Regions from separate parts of the Homo sapiens genome. Here all the other regions are linked to region 1. The links are contacts of gene promoters, found by promoter capture Hi-C in blood cells and fetal thymus (Javierre and others, 2016). All regions are on one chromosome and are shown on one strand. Each heading gives the region's core, a stretch centred on a gene start or on the middle of the fragment in contact. The rest is flanking DNA. Distances are from core to core; before and after follow the strand shown. Region 1 holds the start of BMP8B (bone morphogenetic protein 8b). Region 2 has its middle 28 kb from the start of PABPC4. Region 3 overlaps LOC105378669 (a long non-coding RNA gene). Region 4 has its middle 29 kb from the start of MFSD2A.

The links. The method cuts DNA at HindIII sites, captures the fragments that hold promoters and counts their contacts. A CHiCAGO score of 5 or more calls a contact.
Region 2: a fragment that was not itself captured here is called in contact with the fragment with the promoter of BMP8B in region 1 in 1 of 17 cell types (endothelial precursors); the score reaches 7.2 in endothelial precursors.
Region 3: a contact is called between a fragment that was not itself captured here and the fragment with the promoter of BMP8B in region 1, in 2 of 17 cell types (endothelial precursors and M0 macrophages). The highest score is 5.6, in endothelial precursors.
Region 4: a contact is called between a fragment that was not itself captured here and the fragment with the promoter of BMP8B in region 1, in 2 of 17 cell types (megakaryocytes and endothelial precursors). The highest score is 8.3, in megakaryocytes.

What each region holds. Positions count from the first base shown.
Region 1 is chr1:39,786,492-39,790,592 of GRCh38, forward strand. BMP8B (bone morphogenetic protein 8b) reads right to left here and starts at 2,374. Exons shown (of 7, transcript NM_001720.5): 1 at 1,661-2,374. The coding sequence starts at 1,994. LOC101929536 (a long non-coding RNA gene) reads left to right here and starts at 2,485. Exons shown (of 1, transcript NR_135805.1): 1 at 2,485-3,680. RefSeq lists a silencer at 2,326-2,925 and an enhancer at 2,480-2,981. The HindIII fragment of the contact is 19,151 bases long and covers 1-4,101 here.
Region 2 is chr1:39,602,486-39,606,442 of GRCh38, forward strand. No RefSeq gene overlaps it. Among named protein-coding and RNA genes, the nearest start is that of PABPC4, 28 kb to the left of the region's middle. The HindIII fragment of the contact is 753 bases long and covers 1,575-2,327 here.
Region 3 is chr1:40,018,224-40,021,969 of GRCh38, forward strand. All of the region lies in intron 2 of LOC105378669 (a long non-coding RNA gene), which reads right to left. Among named protein-coding and RNA genes, the nearest start is that of CAP1, 21 kb to the right of the region's middle. RefSeq lists an enhancer at 2,423-2,652. The HindIII fragment of the contact is 2,788 bases long and covers 1-2,767 here.
Region 4 is chr1:39,981,818-39,985,500 of GRCh38, forward strand. No RefSeq gene overlaps it. Among named protein-coding and RNA genes, the nearest start is that of MFSD2A, 29 kb to the left of the region's middle. The HindIII fragment of the contact is 9,070 bases long and covers 1-3,683 here.

The DNA.
Region 1 (4,101 bases), core at 1,124-3,623:
AGGGGTAGGCCCTGCCCAATTCATAGCAATAGCCCCACCAGGCTGTGCATGCCTTGACCCAGGGGATGCCAGGGGAGGTCGGATGTGGGCTGGGTGGTGACGCATTCTGATGGGCGGCTCCCTGGGGACATTCTTGGACGACTCCATCCACAACTCTTCTTGGTCCTGAGCCCAGTGTCAGCCTGTCCTGATGACAGAGCCCCAGCCCCAGCTTCACAGATGGTCTCCTCTGTCCCACATCCCCACCCTGTCCTCTAACTACAAAGGCAGCATCCAGATCCCACCGGCTAGAGTCCTGTCCCTGGCACTGGGCGCTCAGTGATGGTGAATGGCTGCCTCCTGCTGCTCGCCTCCACCACCAGCTCTGGGTTGCGGGAAGCAGAGGCTTGGCCATGCCCTCTTCTGTCCTAGTGTAGGAAGCAAATGGCTGATGGCCCCACAAAACCTGCTGCGGCTCAGTCCCCTGTTTTCCTCAGCCCAGACTCCTCAGAAAGGTCTCTGCACCTTGAAAGCCTGACCTGACAACAGAAATGTCATCTCTTTGAGCCCTGGATGGACAGTCAGGCTTCCTGGGCCTGTCCTGGCTCAGCAGCGTAGAGGCTGCGCTGTCCTAGGCATGGCGCTGCCTCTCTGAGCCTCACTGTCCTCATCTGGGAGATGGGGATGAAGACCGTGGCTGTTATCAGGGTTGTCGGGAGGATGAAGAATTAATGATGCTGTCTGTGGAGGGAGGCTGATGGCCGGGGCCAGGGACCCTCTCCCTCCTCTCAGCCCCACAGCTCCCCGACTTTGGGCTGATCTGTGGTCCTTGGTTCCCCAGACCCCAGACTGTCACTAGCCACAGACAGGAGGCAAAGCAGATGGGTGACCTGACCAATAGTAACTACATGACCATAGACCAAAGAGTTTAGTACTGGAAAAAAAATCTCTGAGATCTTAGGGAATAAATAGCTCCAGGGTTTGATACAAGATATTTGCAGACAGGAAAAGCCGGGCTTTGCCTGGGAGAACAAAGTGGGTCCAGCTGCCCACTGGACCATTCCACAGGACTGGACACTCACCCCATACCAGATCACATCCCAGGTGTTGGGCCCAGGGTGACAAGGCAACAGTCCCTGCCCCAGCGAGCTGAGTTTGCTCCTTCCCCAGCCGCCCCCCTGACAGCCGCACCCCACCCAGGCTCCGCACAGAGAAGAGCCTGCTGTGGACTCAGGGCACGCGACTCAGCTCTGGTCACTCCGATGTGACCACAGGTTTCCACGCTGAACTTTGTCCCTCTCCTCAGTACTGCCCTTATCACAGTGACAGCATCCCGGCCTCTGTTTACTCACCTGTCTCCCCAGGACCAGGCTGTCTTCCCGGGGCAGCCCAGGTGGGCAAAGACATCACCTGATTCTTACTCCTGGGTGTGTTTGGGGCAGGGTGAAGGCAGCGCCTGGGAGTCCACAGTCCCCCACACTCTGCTCCTGACCACCCCGCAGCCCAGGGGGCCCCCATGACCCTTAGACCTTCCCTAACCACGGCGGTCCCACTCCCCTGTGGTTCGCGTCCACCGTCTGTGACTCCCCGTTCGGCCAGGGCCCGGCACAGCCCGCGGATGCGCGCCCCTCCCCTGCAGCCAGCTTACTCCGAGGGTCCCCGCGCGGGCGGCCGCACTCACCCATGTTAACGAAGCTCATGACCAGGTCGGCGCGGCCCAGGCGCCGCTCCGCGGGCGCGCCGTCCTCGTCGTCGTCGCCGGCCATGGCGTGGTACAGGTCCAGCATGAAGAGCGGCGCGGACGCGGGCAGCCGGGAGGCGGCGGGTGGCGCGCGGGGCCGGGGCCGCCCAGGCAGCCCGAGCACCGCCAGGATCTCGCGCTGCACGTCCCGGCGCTCGCGCGCGCCCAGACGTCGCTGGGGACAGCCGGGCGGGGGTCGCAGGCCGGGGCCGCCCCCGCCCAGCGCGCATAGCGCCAGGCCCAGGAGCCAGAGCGGGCCGGGGAGCGCGGTCATGGCAGGCCGGGGGCGCTCAGCTGGGGCGCTCAGCGGGCGCGCATCGGCTCCGCGGCCGACCCAGGGCCTGGGGACGCCCCGACGGCAAGGAGGCTGGGCTCGGCGGGCGGCGGGCGGCGGGGCGGGGCGGGACGGGCGGCGACCGCGGCCTCAGCGCGGTCCCTGGAGCGCCCGCCGCGCGACACCTGTCCTGGCTCCTGGACGAGAGGACGCGGACGCCACCGCCTCGAGGCCGGGGCTACTCTGCGGACTGGGACTCTCGGCCAATCCGTCTGTCGCCGCCGTACCCGCCAGTCCGGCTGTGGCCGCGGTCCGAGCAGCGCAGGGGCGATGGGCGAGCTCCTGCAGCCACCCGCTTGGTGCGGTTCCCGCGAGTCCCTGCCCTGCCCTGCCCAGCGGTCCGCGTCGCCCGCCCCCACCCCGGGACTGACCAATGGGGGGGCGGGGGCGGGGCCTGGGAGCGGGGGCCACGCCTGCGAGGGGGCCCGGGGCTGCGGCCGGTGTCGCGGGTGGGGAGACCCCGAGGTGCTACCTGGGCGTGGCGGGTGGGCAGGCGGCCCGGGCGAGGGGCTCGCAGCCTGGGCGTCAGCGTGGTCATGGCCGTCGTGGCTTCCGCCGCGGGCCTCGGCGCAGAGATCCTAGGGCCGCGGCGCCCTTCCGGTCCCGCCAGTGGTGCCACCCGGCCGCCCCGCCGTCGCGTGCGCGGGTCGCCATGGCATGCTGCAGGCGCCTCCTTCCCGGCACCTGCTCAGCTGCTCCTCCCCGCGCCCCCACCTGGCTCCCGCGTGAGCCTGGGCAGCGCCCCAGGCAGGCCGCCCCCGCCAGCCCTCGCTGCGCGGCGTGCGCCCCCTGCGCCCCCAGTACTGATCCAGCTTCGCGGGGGAGACGCGCACCCGCCTCCTGCCTTTAGCCGGGCCAGGAGCTCTGGGGCCCTTCTGGAGCACCCGGGAGCCACCTGTGCACTTCTCAGTCGCCACGGCCCCGGTGCAGGCCTGGCAGGAGAAGGATCCCCGCGGAAATGCCTCTACTAACTCAGCCCCTTTCTGCACTCTCTGCTCTTCTCTGGGCGCGCTCTCGCCTTACTTATTCCTGTGTGGTTCAGGCGCTGCGGAAGGAGAAGGCACCTAGACTGTACTGGGAAGGCTCCTGGAGTTGACCTGGAGCGCCAGGAAAGGTCAGTGGAGGAAAGTGCTCCAAGCAGAGGGAAGAGCTTGTGCCAAGGCCCTGAGACCCCGGCGGGGGAGCCTAATAATGGCAGGTAACAGTCAGCACTTGCCACGCGCGAGGCATGTTCTCAGTGTGTGTCTTGTGTCATTTCTGTGATGCTTGCACATCGTCAGGGGGTACCTACCACTGGAACCTCCTCTTTTAACAAATGAGGAAACTGAGGCACACAGCGGTTAAGGGACTTACGCTAGGTCACACAGCAGTAGAGCTGGGCTGGGGCAGGGGGCAGCTCCTCAAGTGGAACCTGGAGAGCCCACGGGGCAAATGGCGGAGGCTGGAGGGGCTGGCAAGGGAGGGACTGCAAAGGGCCTCACAGGGGCTAGACGAGGGCCCTGGGCACCAGTGATTATGGTGCCCCCCCATGTGGATTGAAGATTAAACCTCGAAGCAAGTGTATAATGCCCCCAAAAATCACATTTAGAAGTCATCACTTCAATAAAAATTTCTATATTAAATAAATTATTAATGTAAATGGTCATTTGCTGGCTCCTTAAGCACATGCCTAGTCTGTCTTTTACCGAAGAAGTAAATTTCTGCAAGGGTAAATAATAAAATGAAATAAAATAAATATTATTATTACACTATTCAGAGCACTAAAAGAACTACTTTTTCCTGATTACAGAGGTAACTTGCTTTTGTAGAAACTTTTGAAAATAGTTTCATAATCACTTTTGCACATCATCAGGGGGTACATACCATTGGAACCTCCTCTTTTAACAAATGAGGAAACTGAGGCACACAGCGATTAAGGAACTTATGCCAGGTCAGTACAGAAAAGTAAAAATATTACCCCCAACAAATTTTAAAATCACCCAAATCCCTGTTTCCAGAGATAATCACTGGTAATATTTGATGTCTCTTTTTCTTACATGTATGTGTA
Region 2 (3,957 bases), core at 701-3,200, 180 kb before region 1:
TCTCCTGCCTCAGCCTCCCAAGTAGCTGCAGGCGCACACCACCACGCCCAGCTAATTTTTGTATTTTTAGTAGAGACAGGGTTTCAGCATCTTGTCCAGGCTGGTCTCGAACGCCTGACCTCAGATGATCCACCCGCCTTTGCCTCCCAAAGTGCTGGGATTACAGACATAAGCCACTGTGCCCAGCCTCAGATTGCCTTCTTTCACTTAGTAACATGCATTTGTTTCCTCCATTTCTTTCTGTGGCTTGATAGCTGATTTATTTTTAGAGTTGAATTAATATTCAATTGTATGGATGTACCACAGTTTCTCCATTTACCTACTAAAGGACATCTTAGTTGCTTCTAAGTTTTGACAATTATGAATAAAACTGCTATAATCATCCATGCACAGGTTTTCTGGGCGGATATGTTTTTAACTCATTTGGTTAAATATTAAAAAGCATGACTGCTGTGTTGTATGGTAAGAGTATGTTTAGTTTTGTATTCCTTTACATTTAAAAATGTTTCATAGTTTTCTGAGAAAACATCTAGCCATCTTTTGTTATATGTATATTTTGTATATTGATCAATGCAGATCAATATGTTACATGTATATTCCTAGGTGCCTTATAATTTTTGTTGCTATTGGAAATGCATTATAAATAATACATTCTTTCTTTTTTTTTTTTTTTGAGACAGATTCTCACTCTGTCGCCAGGCTGGAGTGCAGTGGTGTGATCTCGGCTCACTGCAACCTCTGCCTTCCAGGTACAAGTGATTCTGCTGCCTCAGCCTCCCGAGTAGGTGGGACTACAGGTGTGTGCCACAACGCTCACCTAATTTTTGTATTTTTAGTAGAAACGGGGTTTCACCATGTTGGCCAAGATGGTCTTGATCTCTTGACCTCGTGATCCACCCACCTCGGCCTCCCAAAGTGCTGGGATTACAGGCGTGAGCCACCCCACCCAGCTTTTTTTTGCTTTTTTTTTTTTGAGATGGAGTCTTGCTCTGTCCCCCAGGCTGGAGTGCAGGGGAGCCATCTCGGCTCACTGCAACCTCCGCTGCCCGGGTTCAGGCGATTCTCCTGCCTCAGCCTCCTGAGTAGCTGGGATTACAGGCAAGCACCACCACACCTGGCTAATTTTTGTATTTTTAGCAGAGACAGGGTTTCTCTATGTTGGCCAGGGTGGTCTCAAACTCCTGACCTCGGTGATCCACCCACCTCAGCCTCCCAAAGTGTTGGGATTACAGGTGTGAGCCTCCAAGCCCAGCCACATTGAGAGGTGAAGCCACCTGGACTTCTGGGTTGGGTGGGGACTTGGAGAACTTTTCTGTCTTACAAGAAAATTGTAAAATGCACCAACTGGCACTCTGTAGCTAGGATTGAAAAATGCACCAATCAGCGCTCTGTGGCTAGCTAGAGGTTTGTAAAATGCGCCAATCAGCACACTGTAAAATGGACCAATCAGTGCTCTGTAAAATGAACCCATCAGCAGGACATGGGTGGGGACAAATAAGGGAATAAAAGCTGGCCACCCCCCCCCACCCCAGCCAGCCACCACAACCGGCTTGGGTCCCCTTCCAAGCTGTGGAAGCTTTGTTCTTTCACTTTTCATAATAAAACTCGCTGGTGCTTACTCTTTGGGCCCGTGCCATCTTTAAGAGCTGTAACACTCACCGGGAAGGTCCACAGCTTCATTCTTGAAGTCAGTGAGACCAAGAACCCACCAGAAGGAACCGACTCTGGACACAATATGTTCTTATTTGTTGTTACTCCAATAAGCAATTAACAAGAGTGCTGTCAGAATGTGTGGGATGATCTTGTATTCAACTAACCTGTCAAATACTCTTATCAATTCTAATGCTCTGCATGTAGATTTTTATTTTCCAAATAGAAAATGAATCATGCATATAAGAATGGTGTTACCTCTTCCTACTTCCTAAGCCTCTGATTTCTATTATATTTATTACATTAGCTAGAAATGCCCATCAAATTTTGAATAAAGGGCATTCATATTTTTAACTTTTATGGGAATGCTAGAGTTTCACCGTTGAATTTGATGTTTAGGAATTTGGCAAATATCCTTTATAGGGTTAAGGTATTATCCTACTAATCCTAATTTGCTAAGATTTGAAAAATGAATGAATTCATCAAATGATTATTTATTTAAGTGATTATATACTTTTTATCTTTTAATGTATTAAGGTTCAGAACAGGAATTCTTTCCCTGTTGTTAACCTATCCTTGCATTTTTGGCTAAACTCTACTACATATTTGCTTCTAATTTAGATGTCATATGGATTCTGTTTTATTATTTAGGATGTTTGTATCTATAACCGTAACTAAGCTTGTTCTAAAATGTTCTTACCTTTAATTGCCCTGTCGTGGGCTGATGACAAGGGCATACTAGTATTACAAAACAAGTTAGGCAGTTTTCCCTTCTTTTCCACCCAGTAAAAACAGTTTGTATAAAACAGAATGTATTAGTCAGGGCTCGGCGTGGTGGCTTACGCCTGTAATCCCAGCATTTTGGGAGGCCGAGGCGGGCAGATCATTTGAGGTCAGGAATTTGAGACCAGCCTGGCCAACGTGGTGAAACCCCATCAATACCAAAAATACAAAAATTAGTTGGGTGTGATGGCACATGCTTTTAGTCCCAGCTACTTTGGAAGCTGAGGCACGAGATTCTCTTGATCCCGGGAGGCGGAGGTTGCAGTGAGCCGAGATAGCGCCACTGGACTCCAGCCTGGGTGACAGAGCAAGAGCCTGTCTCGAAAAAAAAAAAAATGTATTAGGGCTCTCCAGAGAAACAGAACCAACAGGACTTATTTTTATTTATTTATTTTTTTTTTGAGATGGAGTCTCGCTCTGTCGCCCAGGCTGGAGTTCAGTGGCACAATCTTGGCTCACTGCAATCTCCACCTCCCGGGTTCAAGCGATTCTCTTGCCTCAGCCTCCCGAGTAGCTGGGACTACAGGCGCCTGCCACCAGGCCCAGCTAATTTTTGTATTTTTAGTAGAGACTGGGTTTCATCATATTGCCCAGGCTGGTCTTGAACTCGTGACCTTGTCATCCGCCCACCTTGGCCTCCCAAAGTGCTGGGATTACAAGCGTGAGCCACTGCACCCGGCCAGGACCCATTTATTTATTATGAGAAACTGGCTTATGTGATTATGAAGGTTGAGAAGTCCCAAGATCTGCAGTTAGCAAGCTGGAGACCCAGGAGAGCCAATGTGTGTTCCAGTCTGAAAGTCTACTGGCTTGAGATCCAAGAAAAGCCAATGTTTCAGTTCAAATCTATAGAATGGAAAAGACCCATGTCCCAGCTCATACGGTCAGGCAGGAGACATTGCCTCTTACTTGAGGGAGGGGTGGCCTTTTTGTTCTATTCAGGTCTGACTGGATGAGGGCCACCCACATGGGGGCATGCAGTTTGCTTTATTCAGTCAAGTGTTAATCCCATCCAAAAACAGCCTCACAGATACACTCACAATGTTTGACCAAATAAACCGAGCAGTCCATGACTCAGTCAAGTTGACACATAAAATGAATCACATAGTGAGAATATATTCTTTGAAGGTCTGGACAACTGAGCTGTGAGTCCCAACAAGCCTGTTATCCTTTGCTCATTTGTTTGGGTGTGGAAGTGTGGGTGACGTATTTTTCATCAGGGTAATTCCCCTGGAGCCATTCTCTCCTACAAGGGCCTACATGGGATGATCCTCCCTGGCTCCTTTGGAGAAACCCTGATCTTAGTCCTTGAAGACTAACAGCATCCAGGAGACTAAAAAACGATGGGCTGTTTTATCTGTAGAAACTACTAGCCTTTGGGCGACACCATTTGGGGAGTTTGTATTTATCATAGCAGTTATGCCGTTATTCCAACTGACCACTAGAGGGCAGTAATGGCTTATAAAACCGGATCCAGTGTGACAAAAGGGCTTTAAAGAAGCTAACGTATGGTGGATTAAAAGG
Region 3 (3,746 bases), core at 124-2,623, 230 kb after region 1:
CTAAAGGGACACAGAGGAAAATGAGTTTCTCCTCTTCTATCTTTCCATCTCGTCAGGATTTTGCAGTATGTGGGATTGCAGGATTTTGCAGTTTCTGTGGCACTGAGCTAGTACCACATGGCTTCTCTAGACCTGCCTCCTACAGCACATAGCAGCCAGCATCGCTCAGTGTCCTCCAACTCCCCCTGGCTTCCTCTTGGGTAGATTTCTAGCAAATTTCACTGATATGACACCTTAGCAACTTCTCCACCATCCAGTGAAGAGGTACTCCCTCTGCAACACGTTTTGGAGCACAGCCCTGAGAGTGGGGGAGGGGGGACTCTTCTTTGGGCATTCTATTTTGTTATAGTTAATAGTCCTTTGTAGCCATGTGTGGTAGCTCACGCCTGTAATCCTAGCACTTTGGGAGGCCGAGGTGGGCAGATCACCTGAGGTCAGGAGTTTGAGACCAGCCTGGCCAACATGGTGAAATCTTGTCTCTACTAAAAATACTAAAATTAGCTGGGGGTGGTGGCGCATACCTGTAATCCCAACTATATGGGAGGCTGAGGCAGGAAAATCATTGGAGCCTGGGAGGTGGAGGCTGCAGTGAGCCAAAATCGCTCCACTACACTCCAGCCTGAGTGGCAGAGCAAGACTCCATCTCAAAAAAAAAAAAAAAAAAAAGTTCTTTGTATTAAACTTTCCTGTTCAAACTTTTTTTTTTTTTTGAGACGGAGTTTCACTCTTTTGTCCAGGCTGGAGTGCAGTGGCGTGATCTCAGCTCACTGCAACCTCTGCCTTTCAGTTTCAAGCAATTCTCCTGCCTTGGCCTCCTGAGTAGCTGGGATTACAGGCGCCTGCCACCATGCCCAGCTAATTTTTGTATTTTTAGTAAAGATGGGGTTTTACTCTGTTGGCCAGGCTGGTCTCAAACTCCTGAAATTGTGATCTGCCCACCTCAGCCTCCCAAAGTGCTGGGATTACAGGCGTGAGCCACCACGCCCGGCCCTTCCTGTTCAAATTACTGTATGGTTTCTGTCTCCTGGTTGCACCTTAACTGACATATTTTCCTGGTTGGACTCTGAGTCATATTCTCATTGATTTGTAGTATACTTTAACTGTATATTAAATTCCCATATTTCTACATGGGTCTATGTCTGAGATCTCTATTTTGTTCTATTGGCCTACTGGCCTAATTTAATCTTTAATGAGATAATAAGTGCAAAATATCTACCCATTACCTAGCACATAGTAGTTACTCATTGAATGGTAGTGATAATTAACATGATAGAGACTACTTATTTTTGCCCTCACAAAGTACCCATCTAGGACCAATAATCTGGCTTTTGTTTAATTTTGTGGGGTTGGAGAAGGGAGGCAGATTCAGTAGGGAGAGATGACGTTCTTGGTTCAATCAACTTATGAATGAATGAAAATCCAGAAATTGCTGGATTTTTCTGGCTTTAAGCCACTGCTTTAGCCATCACCCATAATTCACATTCATGTAGGCATTTACTTCTACAATGATTCTAATAGATCTATTCTATAATTTTTGAATTTTCTTGGGCATAATTAGAAATCATAAACCTATACAATGCAGTCTCATAGAGAAACTCTAGCAAATGCTCCAAGTGTACACAGTACTATTTTTTTTTTACATTTTTGTTCCAAAAGAGAAGTTTCTGTCATAGATTAACCATAAATTATAAAACAAAATCTAAACAAGTAGTAAAACATCTCCCATTATTTTATTTTATTTTATTTTATTTTATTTTATTTTATTTTTTGAGATGAAGTCTGGCTCTGTCGCCCAGGCTGGAGTGCAGTGGCACAATCTCAGCTCACTGCAACCTCCACCTCCCGGTTCAAGTGATTCTTCTGCCTCAGCCTCCTGAGTAGCTGGGATTACAGGCACCTGCCACCATTCCCAGCTAATTTTTTTGTAATTTTAGTAGAGATGGGGTTTCACCATGATGGCCAGGCTGGTCTTGAACTCCTGACCTCAAGTGATCCGCCTGCCTCAGCCTCCCAAAGTGCTGGGATTACAGGAATGAGCCATCACATCCAGCCTGTCTCCCATTCTTAGATGGGAAGATTTAATATGTCCAGTCTACTGAAATTAATACATTTAATACAATCCTAGTTATAAACGTGGTAACTTTTGTGAAGTGGATAAAATAATCTCTAAATTGATGATGTAGATTGTCACCAGCTATAAACATCACCAATTTCTCCCCTCTGATGTGGAGTTACCCTTCTTGCATACGGGCTGGACTTAGTGAATGCTAACTTGCTTAATCAATAGAATGCAGAGAGCCTATGCAACACAGTGAGACTCCAACTCTATAAAAAATGTTTGTTTTTTTTAATTAGCCACACATAGTAGTGCACCCCTGTAGTCCCAGCTGCTTGGGAGGCTGAGGTGGAAGACCACTTGAGCCCAGGAGGTGGAGGCTGCAGTGAGTCATGATCGTGCTACTGCATTTCAGCCTGGGCAGCAGAGAAAGACCCTGCTTCAAAAAAAAAAAAAATACAGAGGAAGAGTCATTCTGAAACGTCCAAGTTTAGATAACAAGAAACATTGTAACTTCCAGCTGGATCTCTTGAAATGTTTGCTCTTGAGACACTCCTCAGAAACCCACACACTAGAATGTGAGAATCCTAAGCCACATGGACAGGCTGCCTGTTGGCACTCTGATTGACAGTCCTAACTAAGCTCCCAGCAGAGAACCAGCATCAACTTCGAGTTATGTGAATGAGCCATTCTGGATATCCAGCCCAGTGAAGCTTTCAGATGGCTCCAGCCCCAGCCACCTTCAAATGCTAATCACATGAGACCCCAAGTGAGGACTGCTCAGCTGACTTCAGTCAACCCACTGAGCATGAGAGATAATAAATCATTGTTTTAAGTCACGAAGTTGGGTATAGATTGTTATTATAATAGTATTAGGTTGGTGCAAAAGTTATTGCGGGTTTTGCCGTTAAAAGTAATGACAAAAACCTGCCGATGCTGTGGCTCACACCTGTAATCCCAGCATTTTGGGAGGCCAAGACGGGTGGATCACCTGAGGTCAGGAGTTCAAGACCAGCCTGGCCAACATGGTGAAACCCTGTCTCTACTAAAAATATAAAAATTAGCTGGGCATGGTTGGGGGGCATGTGTAATTCCAGTTACTTGGGAGGCTGAGGCAGGAGAATTGCTTGAACCCTGGAGGTGGAGGTTGCAGTGGGCCGAGATTACACCACTGCACTCCAACCTGGGCCAAAGAACGAGACTCTGTCTCAAAAATAATAATAATAATAATAAACTAATGACAAAACCCACAATTACTTTTGCACCAAGGTAATAATAGGTAACTGGAATAGAAATTGATACAAGTAGTGTTATGCTGCTGTGACAAAAACCTAAAACATGGGACAGTGACCTAGGACCAGGTAGTTGTTGGAAGCTGAAGGGCCTTAGGAGACTGTTAGTGAAGATTTGAAGGAAACTGTTATTGGAGGAAATTGTTATTGGAGGCTGGAGAAAAAGCAACTATTTTTATGTAGTAGCAAAATGTTTTGAAGAATGTCACCTGTGGTAAAACATAAAATAGAAAGTATACTTAATGTACTGGTGAATTTGGCTAAGGAGATTTCTAGGTGGAATGTTCAAAGTGCCGACTGGTGTCTTTTAGCAGTCAATGGTAAGGTACAAGAAGAGAAAGATAATCTAACAAGGAAATGATTCTGCTTTCTAGAAGAATTTAGAGGGTATATAAAGT
Region 4 (3,683 bases), core at 344-2,843, 190 kb after region 1:
GGGTCTCCCTATGTTGTCCAAGTTGGTCTTAACTGCTGAGCTCAAGTGACCCTCCCTCCTTGGCCTCCCAAAGTACTGAGATTACAGATGTGAACCACCTCCTGGCCTGTCCGTTTCTTAAGAACCAAGACTTTTGTCCTGTGTCCTTCCCTCCCTTTTCACTGCCATCAGGGCTCAGACTCCAGAGCTAGTCCTCCAGCAATCTATGGCTTTCAGCAGATGGGTTTGGCCATTTCTGTTAACACAAAGGGACAACTCATAGTGTGGGAGGGGCTGTTCTACTCCTTGCTGTTCCTTAAAGGAGTAGCAGAGGCAGAGGACGAGACCTAGGCTGTCTAATCCAACCCCACCTGATGCGTGGATGCCTGTGGCTGCCTTCTGCTTGCTCATGCCTTTGGCAGCCAGCTCATTTTGGCTCAAGGCAGCCTGTTTCATTTGTGGAGAAGGGCATAAAAAAAGGTTTCCTTCATCTTGAAAGCTATCTCCTTGTGGCTTGTCCCCACAGATTCTAGATCCTCTCTTTGGCATCTGCACAATACAACCCTTCTCTTTGTCCCATGGAAGACCTGCATAAATTTGAAGACAGATCTTGTCCCTAGAAATGAGATCAAGGCCTGTCATTCTTCTAGTTATACTTGTTTTAGTAGTCTATAAAGACCAAGCATTTATTTTGCTTTTGTAATTAAAAATAAACAAAAAACTCCTTACTTTTCAATGTTTTATTGAGATATAATTTACATTCAGGAGGCTGGGCGCGGTGGCTCACGTCTGTAATCCCAGCACTTTGGGGAGGCCAAGGCGGCTGGATCACCTGAGGTCAGGAGTTCGAGACCAGCCTGGCTAACATGGTAAAACCCCGTCTCTACTAAAAATACAAAAATTAGCCGGGTATGGTGGTGCATGCCTGTAATCCCAGCAACTCGGGAGGCTGAGGCAGGAGAATTGTTTGAACCTGGGAGGCGGAGGTTGCAGTGAGCGGAGATCGCACCACTGTACTCCAGCCTGACAACAGAGTGAGACTCCGTCTCAAAAAAAAAAAAAAAAAAAGAAATCTTTACTTACCCCAATATCAAAAAAATTATCTTATGTTTTTATTTAGAAGTTGTTTTATTGTTGTTTTATACTTTTTTTATTTAGGTCTATGATCCACTCAAATTAATTTTTGTGTATAGTGTGAGTTAAGGGTCAGAGTTTATTTTTCTCTGTACTTATCCAATTATTCCAGCACCTTTTATTAAAAGGACGTCCCTCCCCTACTTGATTACAGTGGCATAAATCAAAAGAACCTATATGTGTAGGTCCATTTTTGGACTCTATTTTTTTTTTTTTTTTTTTTTTGAGACAGAGTCTTGCTCTGTCGCCTAAGCTGTAGTGCAATGGTGCGATCTCGGCTCAATGCAACCTCCATCTCCCGGGTTCAAGCAATTCTCCTGCCTCAGCCTCCCCAGTAGCCGGGATTACAGGCACACGCCACCACACCCGGCTAATTTTTGTATTTTTAGTAGAGGCGGAGTTTCACCATATTGGTCAGGCTGGTCTCAAACTCCTGACTTCAGGTGATCCACCTGCCTCGGCGTCCCAAAGTGCTGGGATTACAGGCATGAGCCACCGTGGCTGGCCCTGGACTCTTTATCCTGTTCAAGTGATCTACTCAGCTATTCTTACTCCAAGAGTCCCCTGTCTTAATTACTATAGATTTATATAGTAAATGTTGAAATTTGGTAGTGTAAGTCTTTCAACTTCAAGGTTTTGTTTTGTTTTGTTTTTGAGATGGAGTTTCACTCTCTCCCAGGCTGAAGTGCAATGGCGCGATCTTGGCTTATTGCAACCTCCACCTCCCAAGTTCAAGCGATTCTCCTGCCTCAGCCTCCCAAGTAGTTGGGACTACAGATGCCCGCCATCATGCCCAGCTAATTTTTTTGTACTTTAAGTAGATAGGGGGTTTCAGCATATTGGCTAGGTTGGTCTTGAACTCCTGACCTCAGGTGATCTGCCTGCCTTGGCCTCCCAAAGTGCTGGGATTACAGGTATGAGTCACCATGCCTGGCCAAACTTCAAGGTTTTTGGATTGTCCATATGTATTTTGGAATCAGCTTGTCAATGTATGCGTGTGCACACACACACACACACACATACACACACAGAATGTGCTGGGAGTTTGATGGAATTACACTGAATCTATGAACTAATTGGAAAAAACTGGCATCTTAACAATATTGAGTCTTCTAATTTATGAACATGAAATATCTGTCCATTTATTTAGGTCGTGTTTAATTTATGTCAAGAATGTCTTATAGAAACAGGCATGGTGGTGCATGCCCGTAGTCCCAGCTACTTGGGAGGCTGAGGCAGGAAGATCACCTGAGCCAGGGAGTTTGAGACCAGCCTGGCCAAAATAGTGAGACACTGTCTCTTAAAAAAGAGAGAGGGCCGGACGCGGTGGCTCACACCTGTAATCCCAGCACTTTGGGAGGCCAAGGCGGGTGGATCACAAGGTCAGGAGTTCGAGACCAGCCTGGCCAAGAAGGTGAAACCCCATATCTACTAAAAATACAAAAAATTAGCCGGGTGCAGTGGCAGGCGCCTGTAATCCCAGCTACTCGGGAGGCTGAGGCAGGAGAATCGCTTGAACTCGGAGGGCGGAGGTTGCAGTGAGCTGAGATCGCGCCACTGCACTCCAGCCTGAAAACAGAATGAGACTCTGTCTCAAAAAAAAAAAAAAAAGAGAGAGAGAGAATGTTTCAGGTTGAGGTCTTTTTTTTTTTCTTTGAACATTTATTATGATTCTTTTTACATTTTTTGTAGAGGTGGGGTCTTGCTATGTTGCCCAGGCTGGTCTCCAACTCCTGGGCTCAAGCAATTCTCCCACCTCAGACTCCCAAAGTGCTGGGATTATAGGCATGAGCCACCACTCCTGGCCACAGGTTAAAATCTCAAACATCTTTCAATAGATTTATTCCTAAGTATTTGATATTTTTGATACTGATGTAAATGATATTTTTTGTAAATTTCATTTTCTAATTTTTTTGTTGCTATTATAAAGAAATACATTTGTATGTTGATCTCATATCCAGTAGTCTTGCTAAATTCACATATTAATTATATGAAACCTCTACATTTTTAATTTTGAAAACATTTGCATTGATCTTAAAGTTCAAGCTAGTATTTTGATTATTTTAAAACTTCCTAGGCCGATGGGCGCAGTGGCTGATGACTGTAATTCCAGCACTTTGGGAGGCCAAGGCAAGAGGACTGCTTGAACTCGGGAGTCTGAGACCAGCTTGGGCAACATGGTGAAACTCTGTCTCCACAAAAATACAAAAATTAGCCAGGCATGGTGGTGCATTCCTATGGTCCCAGCTACTCGGGAGGCTGATGCGGGAGGATTGCTTGAGCTCATGATTGCACCACTGCACTCCCGCCTGGGTGACAGAGAAAGACCCTGTTTCAGAAAAACAAAAACATCCTATTCTTTGACCGTCACCTTTTATCTTTCTGGCTCACTCTCTCTAATACTCTGAATCCAATAATTTGTCAACGTCTTCATGACATCCAACCCATTGACCCTATCACCTTTTCATTGCCCTTTAACTTATCATCTTACACATCTTAGATTCCACAGTCTCATTAGTATTATTTTCTCGTTCCCTTTCCCCGCCACAGATCTTGCCTGGATTTACTCG